Regions from separate parts of the Homo sapiens genome. Here region 1 is linked to region 2. Evidence: promoter capture Hi-C in 16 types of primary human blood cells and fetal thymus (Javierre and others, 2016). All regions are on one chromosome and are shown on one strand. The core of a region is centred on a gene start or on the middle of the fragment in contact, and the rest is flanking DNA. Distances in the headings are between cores, read along the strand shown.

Evidence for each region. The method cuts DNA at HindIII sites, captures the fragments that hold promoters and counts their contacts. A CHiCAGO score of 5 or more calls a contact.
Region 1: a fragment that was not itself captured here is called in contact with the fragment with the promoter of MCTP1 in region 2 in 2 of 17 cell types (megakaryocytes and endothelial precursors); the score reaches 9.6 in megakaryocytes.

Annotation. Positions count from the first base shown.
Region 1 is chr5:95,511,065-95,516,529 of GRCh38, forward strand. It overlaps SKIC3 (SKI3 subunit of superkiller complex), which reads right to left. Exons shown (of 43, transcript NM_014639.4): 24 at 5,461-5,465; 25 at 5,289-5,345; 26 at 3,791-3,859; 27 at 2,507-2,581; 28 at 1,413-1,554. Among named protein-coding and RNA genes, the nearest start is that of SKIC3, 41 kb to the right of the region's middle. The HindIII fragment of the contact is 916 bases long and covers 3,758-4,673 here.
Region 2 is chr5:95,282,288-95,287,863 of GRCh38, forward strand. It overlaps MCTP1 (multiple C2 and transmembrane domain containing 1), which reads right to left and starts at 2,807. Exons shown (of 23, transcript NM_024717.7): 1 at 1,569-2,807. The coding sequence starts at 2,288. RefSeq lists silencers at 1,896-2,015, 2,096-2,155. The HindIII fragment of the contact is 7,244 bases long and covers 1,331-5,576 here.

The DNA of each region.
Region 1 (5,465 bases), core at 2,966-5,465, 230 kb after region 2:
TCTTGAAAAATCCTTAAAGTCACAAAAGAAAGAGTCAACAAAATTGAGTCATAATAAGCATGAGGGCCAGGCACAGTGGCTCACGCCTGTAATCCCAACACTTTGGGAGTCCGAGGCGGGTGGATCACCAGGTCAGGAGATTGAGACCATCCTGGCTAATACCGTGAAACCCCACCTCTACTAAAAATACAAAAAATTAGCCGGGCGTGGTGGCACACACCTGTAACGCCTACCTGCTAATCGGAAGGCTAAGGCAAGAGAATGGCTTAAACCTGGGAGGTGAAGTTGCAGTGAGCCGAGATTGCGCCACTGCACTCTAGCCTGGGTGACAGAGCGAGACTCCGTCTCAAAAAATAAATAAATAAATACAAAATAAGCATGAGGAGATCCATGCCTTCACATGCCACACCCACCCTAAGGCAAACCCCCCCAAGTGCTGATGTTTGTAAATTAATTGCCTAGTCTAGTGCCTCAGGCTAAATGCATGCAGAGTGCCACAATCCCCACAATATCTACAGTGAGGCATTTTCTCTCCTGTTTTTCACAATTTATCTGATTCTTTATATTATTTGACTGCCAATATTTACTGTTTTCAGTACTCTTGCTTAAACTCCTTGCTTCTTTATTAGCATTTTGTCAAAAGTTAATGAAACTAACATTTCTTGAGCATCTAGGATATGCCAGGCACCCTGCATAACATTTTGTACAAATCATCTTGTTTAAACACTAAGCAATAAACACTTTCCTGTTGAGAATTTTGGTAGCATGCCCAAGGTTTCAGTCAAGGCTACTAAGTGGTGGAGCAGAGATTAAAACCCAATGGTAGTTTTATTAAAAAAGACGGAATTATTACAACAGATGGTTAATAAAATTTCACCACTCTGTCAACTTCCTAAACCTAAATGTATCTTTCCAATATCTTCAAGAAAAATCAGGTGTTAAGTGGGGAAGCTAAAGGCACTGGGTTTGGCACTTCATTTATATTATCTCATCTAGTTCTCACAACTCTACAATCCAGGTATTGTTATATCCACTATCCAGGGAGTAAACAGAAGTTAAGGGTGGTAAAACACTTGGCCTAAGACTGCAGAGAAAGTTAAAGGCAAAGCGAGAACAGCAGCAACTGTTCTAGTGTATAGTGTATAGTGGAGAGTGTATTAAAGCCTAATACACTCTACACTATAACAAGGAAATTACTTTTTTCTTGCATCATTAGGTAACAATTTTTATCTTTCTTCAAAAGCCTTTATTAAAGTTTACAAAGTAAAGACTGCTTCGCTGTTGCAAAAAGAAGGCAAATTCATGTCTTAAAGAATACCAATATTTAATTTGACATGAATTAATTTTAAAAATTATTTAAATTATTTCAATAGTTGCTCAAATATCTTGCTATTATATAACAGGTACCTTACCTACATATTTATTCAAAATAACTTGTGCTGCTGGAATAGCATTCATCTGGAGGATGTTGTACTGGTACAGCTCTGTTTCTCTGTTGCTTTTATCTTGCAATGTTGTGCAGACCCAATACGCATAACCTAATGCTCCTTCAGTCTTTAAAAAAGCCAACGTTAAGCAGACATAGGATAATAAATGTGTCAATAAAAATTATAATAAGAAGTAAAACAATGCACTTCAATACAATAAATATCACATCTCAGTGTTCTTTAAGTCAATTGTTAAAAGTACCTTTAAATGAAGGGTCACTATGATAAAACACAGCGAAGAACATATTGAAATTATTTGCTCCAATCCTAACGAGAAGAATCAAACGGGATAAAATGCAGAAAACAGAGCCTTGCCTGATGGGCTGGCTTTCCCTTCCTCAGCACCATTGCCAAAGGTCAGACCAAAAAAAAAAATGAATTCTACAACATTTTCATAAATAATCTAGAAATGTCTACCATGCCTACTCCTTATCTCATGTCTATCTTTTTCCTAGAGTCTCAGTTTCTATTCTATTAATATATGACTGCTACTATATCTATTAAATCTAAACATCATTTCTTCACCAGCTCTTGAAAGTTGTAGAAAAAAGAAAAATGGTAGTTCTTTAATTCGAGAAAACTAATCTGTTTCTAAGAAAGAATAAAGAATAAAAACAACTGATGTCATTAACATCTAATACCACTATCTATTCATTTTCTTTTTCCTTTTCTTAGAGACAGAATCTTGCTCTGTTGCCCAGGCTGGAGTGCAATGGCATGATCATAGCTCACTGTATCCTGAAACTCCAGGACTCAATCCTCCTGCCTCAGCCTCCTGAGTAGCTAGGACTACAGGTATACACCATCATACCTGGCTAATTTTTAATTTTTTTTTTTAAGAGACAGGGTCTTGCTATATTGTCCAGGCTGGCCTCAAGCAATCCTCCTGCCTTGGCATCCCAAATCACTGGGATTACAGGCATAAGCCACTATGCCTAGCCCAATATCTATTCATTCCCTTAACAAGGATAACACTTTTCTCATTAATGAATCCTCAAGAAGAATGTTCAGATTCTTACATGCATATTTAGTTCTGTAGTGTGCCTGAAGAGATCCATGGTGTCATAACTTCCAACTGCCTCAGCAATAAGAGCCTATAAAAGGAAAAAAACAGACTCTTAATGTGTTTAAAAGACAGTAACAATAATAATACAAAATGAAACTGTCTAGAAGAACCAAAGGTTTACTAGCTGAGCTTAAAAGCAAAGTTAACCTAAGTTTTTCACTTCTATTGTTATTATTTTAACTAAATCTTCCAGTTACCTGCTAAAATAAATTATTTTTAAAACCAAAAATACTTTTAAAATAAAAATTAAAAAGTGATTCTGATAATCATCTAAGATCTACTGAGCTAGAGCAGTACTACGCGAAGTGAGGTCCCTTGGACCAGCCTCATAATCATCACTTGGGAGCAGTTAGAATGCAAATTCTTGGACTCCCTGGGTTCAATGGCTGACACAGAGGCTAGCACAGTAACGCCACTGCTCCCAAATGCTACCACAGTGAATGGGAACAGGAGTTTGCCTTTCTAGCTCTGCTTGCTTCACCAATTAACTAGAATTAGGCCCAAGAGTCTAAAATACAACAAAAGATCTCTAAACCCTGATTAATAATTTTCTGATAAGCAACTGACTGCTTACTAATTCATTATAATTTCTCAACCAGGCAAGAACTTCGAGGCCACTCAGTCTAATCCCCTTCTTTTTCAGGTGAGAAAATTAAAATCCAGAAAAGTGATATGCTAAGGTAAAAAAAGAAAAAAAAATCAGTAGGTAACAGACTCAGACTAGTAACAAAGTATCCTGATTCCTATTTGGCAGTACAAAAATCTGAATTTGGGGGAGGAAAGAACACTCATAAACAAGTGACAAACCAAATATGAAGATTTTACAGAAACATAATATTCAAAATGATCTTTGTAAATGTGCATTTTCTTTGTACATGTGAGTTAAACAATAGAGTTCTGGGTTTATTTTTTAGGCACAGTAATGTCAGACTGGTAAGTGTTCAAAGGCCCCCCAAGTCAGAGTTAAATCCTTACAAGCTACGTGGCCTTAGGAATGACACTTAGGAGCTCTGAGTTTCTATTTCCACAACTATAAAGAGAGTATAACATCAACCATATCTCAAAGAATTGATGATTGATAGATTAACTGAAATAGTGTATACAAAGAGCTAAGCACAGTGACTGGCACAAAGTAAGCCCTCAAATGCTATCCGTTACCATTATTATCACTGTTATGCATATTAGTCAGTTATTGATATCAACAAGCTTATTAGTAACTATATGTTATATTTCTTACTTGTCCAATCCAGCACATTAAATAAGATGGATCAAGGGATTGAGCCATTTTGAAAGCCTCATGAGCTTGCTAGGAAAAAAAGGCAAAAAATATTACAGCAAGTCATTTTATAAACTTATTAAACCGCTTATGTTTAAAAAGCATAAAATAAGTCAAACCTCTCATCATAAATATGTATGAACATAAAATTTCACTGTTTAAGCATAATTAGCAATGCTTAAAGCAGTGTTTTAACTACACAGTTCTGGAACACTCCTGGGTGCAACAGATTTCTCCCCAGGTTAGGAGTTCTGAACCCTAGCAAAAAAGGGTTCTACCTTGTCATCTGCAGAACTTTTAACCAACCAATCATCCATCCATTAGATAGCCATAGGTTTGAAGGCAATGATTAAATAAGGCTATCTATTCCCCTTTTAGCTTAACTGGGAGGATAAGAACTCACAACCAATGAAGTCCTAACCAATGAAGTCCTAGACATGTGTATACCTGCTACCAGAGAAGGAGTGATCAACAACATAATTCTGCATTAAGCAATCAGGAAACTTCAAAAATATCTAATTTGGACACATTAACTTGGATGCTTTTTTTTCTGCTACAAAAAATAACTTTTTATTACATACTGCTTTATACTATTTTCTCAACAATCTATGTATGGCAGGAAACAGTCTTATTTTTCCTATTTTTAAAAAGTAAGCTCATGGGCAAAAACTATCCCATGCTACAATAAAACCACATCCATAGCTTATTAAGACATTGTTTTATTTAAATTAAAAAAAGTTCACGTATTTTAAAATCCAAATTAATATTTTCTTCAATCTATTTACAATTTTCTAAATCCAGTCTTTTTTGCAGGGACTTAATGTATCCTTGAGAATATTGAGAAAGCTTTTTGGGATGAGATTCAATATACCAGCTGAAACACAAAACAGTTCAGACATGGTATTACCTATAGATTTATGGAAACTTTCCAAACATGACCTATAAACATACTCCCAGTCACTTTAGTTCTAATTGCCTAATGTATAATTGCTCAAGTATGACAAATTACACTTGCTATTTAAAGAGATTAATATCTACTAAAGCCAAAATGTAAAGCATCCAAGAAAGGTTAAATTTAAGCTGCTAGAGAGTACTAACTGTCTCCCTTGTGCTCATCCACTCCACCTCCAACACTATCTACATAGGACTTCTCTTACATGTGTACAGATTTAAAAAAATGCTGAATTGATTCAGAATCAAACTGTTTTAATCTCTAAATGAAAAACCAACATAATCACAAAACCAGAAGTTTCTTGAAGGTCATAAAAAGGAAAATAAATCTTACACATTAATTATTCGACATAAATTGAATATCATCAATTAACTAGCATACTGGAGAGCATACTGGCTAGATAACGATGTGCAAAAACATTTCTCCACAAGAAGCTGAGCTATTGAGGAGACAATAATATAGAAAACATTCTTTGTTTTAAATATGACAGACAGGCAACATATTTACCTCAATGTTTTCATTTGTGAGGTATAACACTCCCAAGTTGGTCCATGCAACAGCATTCTAAAAAACATAACATTTTTTTTCTTAAAATAGGCCCCTTGTCTAGTTGAAAGTCTCAGAAAATTAGTAATACTAAATTTTGAAGTTCTTTTTCATAGACACATAGAATACTCACAATTT
Region 2 (5,576 bases), core at 1,557-4,056:
TTTTGCTTTAAAAATATCTTGGTTCAGTGAACTGTAATGTGATTTAATAAGTTAACATTCACGGTAATATGATATATACCTTTCAAAATAATTCAATTATTATTTGTTATTCTATTATCCTTGATAGTGAAAGAAAAAAATGTAAAGTTCCCCAACTCTGAAATTCTTCTACATTAGGATTATGTACACGCTCAAAAATAAATACTTCCTTTAATATATAGTATTCATCTATACTGAATTTAAAACATTCTTCTAAAACCATTTATCACTTTACTTTTAAAACCAAAAACAGGGGCTCTATCCAGTTCACTTTCAAGATGACAGGAAAGGTAAATGTATTTGGTCTTTTTGTCACTATTATCTCTACTTACTCTTCTGAGAATAAAATATTTTTCTGGATCATCAGGTGTTTGCTTACAGCAAGCAATTTTGTTTATTAAGGAACAAAACATATTCATATTCTGCTTTACTTTCTGGAGCTACACTAAGAAATCAGTCCATGAACTATAAAAACTTCCAACTGAAAGCCTATCTATTCCCGTATCTTACCCTTCAAACACAGCCTGTTTCTTTGTAGCTGAGCTTTTAATCTACTAATAACTAAAGTTTTAATGCAAGTGTCATTCATCTAACATAATTAATCAGAGTCAAAACAATGAGAAAGTGTAAGTAAACTAAGATATATTGGGAGAAAAATGTTCTTTAGGTCTCTGGCAGAGTGAAACTTCCAAAATATTTTCTAGAATTAAAATGATTTGATAAACATTTACAAAAAGAGCAGTGCCTCTTCGAAATTGAGGGAGTAAAAACGGCTATTCAGTGGGACACATTGTGGGTCCCACACATAAAATTTCTAGTAAAAGCACTTTTACAAACCTTGACTCTTGTCTGAGCAATCAACATGATGTATAAAGCAGCATACTTTAAAAAGCAAGTGCTTCAGGTGACTATTAAAACTTCACAAGGCTCATAGGAACATATGCATTTGACTAACTGGGAGGAGACGCTCCCGCTGTCCACTTGAAGGGCGGTGATCCAATTGCAGCAGGAAGGTTTAAGAAAGGGGTGCCGGATGCAGGCCTGAGATGATGCTTTCCCTGGCACAGGACCTCACATGTGCCATAATTTACCTCTCCACGTTTCTATTTCTTCCCGCCAGCCATTTGCTTCCAATGGTACCTCTCCACACCACCACACGTGATCGTAATTGTTTTTAAGTTATTGGGTTAGTTTTTTCTTTTGCCAAGATGAGATTTGGCTGGACATCTCCTTTCAGGAGAACTCTAAAAAGTACCCACTTTAGGTCTAACTTTTCATTGACTACTCAGAAAGCTTCTGGTGACAGGTATCATTTCTACCAAAAGTAAAGTCCGGGTGCAAGTCAGAACTCTTTCATCTTTGCTAAACCAGAGCGAGATGTTTTCTTTCGACTGTTTCATCTACTTAGAATTAATAGCATTTCTCCTCCCGCCTCCCGGCCCCCGCCCCCCGCTCCCCGGGTGGTGAACGCCTGAAGAGGGAGGCGTGGTCCCGCGCACCTTGTCTCCGGCCGCGCCACCGGCACTCACCTGGCTGCTGCCGTGCTCCTCGCCCGTCTCCGGGGCCCGAGACTCCGCGGGACTCCGCGCCGGCTCTGCGGGAGGAGGCGGCGGCTCCAGCAGCTGCTCCAGGCAGGCGGTGCCCGGCAGAGAGGAGCTCTTCTGGTGGCACAAGTGCGCCCCGGGGCCCTGACGCCGTGCACCCTCATCTCGGGCGCGGTCCCCCCTCGGGGGAGGCTGGGGCGAGGAGGACAGGGAGGATGAGGCGGAGGAAGAGGAAGGAGCTGAGTCGGGGGAGCGTCCGCCAGGAGGCGTCCCTCCCGCTGCTCCCGAGGCCGCCGCGGGCCCCTTTACGGCGGGGAGCAAATGCTCGCGGATCCGGCGGCGTAGCGTGGACCCCTGCTCGGCTCTGCCGGCGCCGCCGGGCTCCAGGGGCTCCGGCGACGAGCAGCACAGGTTGGGCTGCGAGGAGGAGAAGACTCGGTCCAGCACTTGCTTCCGCTTCTTGAAGCCGCTCCACCTGCTGCCTGCACCACTCCCCCTGGCCGGTGCATTCCCTGTGCCCACCGGGGGTGGCGGGGAGGGCGACGGGGTGTCCGCAGTGCGGCGCTCTGGACCCCCAGCGCGCCCGCCCCCGCCGCCCTTGCTCCTGCCCACCCCCAGCTGCAGGTTCTTCCAGAGCCGGGCCTGGAAGGAGGAGGACGCCGCCGGCGGCTCTGGCTCGCCCGCCGCGGCAGCCCGGGGCTCCATCCTCCACCCCCTGCTCCTCCTCTCCCCTCCTCCTCCTCCTCCTCCTCCTGCTTCTCCTCCCTCTTCGGCTGCACCTCCTCCCGGGTCCCCGCGGCGCTGGCGGTGGCGGCGGCGGCGGCGGCGGGCGCAGCAGCAGAAACCGGGAGTGCCCAGCGACTTCAGGCCAGCTCGGGGGAAAGAAGCGGCCGCCGCCGCCGAGGCTCTCTGGCCTCGGGACTCCGGCGCTGCCTCTTCCTCCCGCACCTGCTGGGGTGGGCTGGAGCCGTAACCGAATCCCGGCCGCGGCGCCTGCAAAGTTTTTCCCTCGAAGCTCCGCGGCTCCAGTCCACTGGCGTCCCCCAGGCCGCGCCCTGGCTCCCTCTTCTCTCTGACCGAGCTCGGGAAGCTGCACGCACCGGGGCGTGCGCGTCCAGCTGCGCCAGGGACCGCACCCGGCGCCCTCTGGGCAGCACCTGTCAGCGGCGGGGGCGGCTGCCTCCAAATTGGGCGCGCACGCGGCTCACACAACAAGGCGCGTCTGGCTGGAGACTCCGGGGACCAGCAGTCCCCCTGGGGCGCCCCGGGACCATCCTCCAGCTCCTAGGTGGGAGGGCCGGTAGGAGCCGGGTGGAGCTAGGTAGGGCCCGAAGCCAGCTTGCTCCCTAGGATCCGGCCACAGTTGCCCAGGCAGCTCGCTGTGCGCTGGCCGCTGGCCGCGCTGGCGATCGTCTGGGTCGGATGAAGCGAGCTGGAGTGGAAACTATGTGCCCTCGATGGGTCTCGTGGGGGCGCCGATCGTCCACACTGAGCGATGAACCCGACGGAGTTCTAAAGCTGAAGACGTCTGCCCCCGCCCCGTTGCGCTCCCTGGGTCCAAGACGAGAGTTTAATTTCTTCTGTCTTGACTTCATCCCCATCCACCCCTCCCTTTTCTTTATTTGCCTCTGCACTGGTCTCTTATGATCAGGTTCTAGCATTTCCGGAGTCTGACGATAAAGCCAGCCCTTAAGTTGCAGGGAGTTTACGGTGGACGAAGATGGGTGATGCGCACTGCCTTTGATCCGATTCGGCACGCACAGAATCTTGTTCTTTTCATTCAAGCGCATTTTTTCTTTGGTTACTTCATTTGCTTGTTGCAAGGCAAACGGAAAAGGCTTTTTAGCTCATTCAGACTTTGCTTCTCCCAAAGCTGCTCAGCCAGGGTCTTCTGATTCTGCTAGGAGAGACTTCTGAAAGGCCAGCAACACAATGCCTCTTTCGTCCTCCTAAATGGGGAAAACGGGAGAGTTCCCTAAGCTGCGGTAGCACACTGATCAGTCTTGTCTAGCTAGCAGTATGCTTTGGAGGTGTTACCAACCTAAGTTTTTTGTTTTGTTTTGTTTTTGTTACCTTTATAACAAATATTTATTAAGCACCTACTATATACCAGGCACTGTGATAGGCTCTGGGGATGCAGCTGTGAACAGGGCATCAGGGTCCCACCCACATGGAGCTTATTGTGAGGGTGAGGGTTGGGAGGTGATGCGAGACAATAAACAGAATTTCTAATATGCAAAAGTCCCATGGAAACAGTTAAGCAGGGTACCACATAACAGAGTGGCTACAGAGGAAGAGCTTCCAGACAAAATGCAGGACACCCAATTAAACTGACTTTCAGAGAAACAATGAATAATATTAGTATATGTATGTCCCAAATATTGCATGGGACATACTTATACTAAAATACTATTATTTATCTGAAATTTAAATTTAACTGGGTGTCATGTTTTTGTTTGCTAAATCTGGCAGCCCCATATGGAGAGGTTTTTGGTTTTTTACATTATGTGTACAGGGAGAGTCTCTCTGAGAAGATAAAATTTTGAGTTAAGACTTAATGAGGACAGAGAACCAGCTATTGACGGATCTGACTGTAGAATTTCAGGTAGAAGGAACAGCAGATACAGAGGTCCTGAGGCAGGAAGCAGCTTGACTGGGCATATTCAAGGACAGAACGATACCACTCCAAATAGAGTAGAGCAAGGTGGGTGGGGTTGGTAAGAGATGTAGTGAAACAAAAGGTCAGCTAAGGGAGTGGGTCCTATAGCCAGAGTGAGAGTCCATGTTTCCTCTAAATGAAATTGGGAGACATTAGAGGTCTTTTTTAATCGTGAGGGTAATGTGATGTGATTTACTAATACTAATGCCAGGTATTAATAAATAGCCTCACAGGGCTATTTTGAAGATTAAGTGGAAAAAGGACTTAGCTCAGTGCCTGTATATAGTTGATATTATTGTTATTTGGTAGACCCAGTATTTCCCAAGTATATGAATACTATGCTTTGGAAAAAGAGCAACGTGAATGGAGAAACACTGGGCTGCATTTAAATAATATTATTGAAATGACAAGATTATAGAGATGGATAGTGGTTGCCAGGGGTTAGCGGTGGGGCAAATGTAAAGGATCAGAATAAAGAAGTTTATTTGTTATGATGAGACAAATTTAGATTGTGGTGGTGGTTACATGAATGTGTGTTATACACAGGATAGGACTGCATAGAACTACATACATATATGAATGCACATAAAAACGTGACATCTGAATAAGATAAGTTGTACCAATGGCAATTTCCTGGGTCTTAATATTGAACTATAGTTATGTATGATAATATCATTGGGGGAAATTGGGTGAAGGTCACACAGGAGCTCTATGTAGTATGTTTGCAACTTCCTGTGAGTCCATAATTATTTTAAAATTTAAAGTATAAATAAAAGCAAACAATAATAAAGCATGTTTTTTTGAAAAAATTGTGTGCTGCTGAAAGTTTTCCTTTGGAACCTTAATAATTAGAGAATGAAACAGTCTTAGAGCTACGATGGCCTACCCTTTCTTTGTAGCTCTGTTCTGGCCAACCCCACCTAATTCCTGAGGAAGCCTCTGAGAAGCAAATGAGGGAAAAGTCAGGACTGGTGAGGCAGAGTCCACATTAGGGCAAGCTCACAACTGCAAAGGTAAACACAGAGGCTGTGAAGCACTCTCCACACAGAATAAGAAAAGCCAACCACATTTGCCTTTATGGAGGTACCTCCCCACCGGGTGAAAGCAGAAGGGTTGGCATTTTTCACTGGCTTTTCCTTCCTCTTCACTCCAGTTTCCTTTCTCTGTATTTTATTTCTGTGTTAGTCCTTACTTTTCAAAGTTTCAGGTAAACCTTTTAAAGTTTCAGTTAAAACTCTTCAGCTAAATTATAAATATCATAGCTAAGTCTAACTGTGTAAGCTGGTGGTGGCTTAAGTGTTAACTCTCTCTGGAGTATTTATGAGCTTTATATA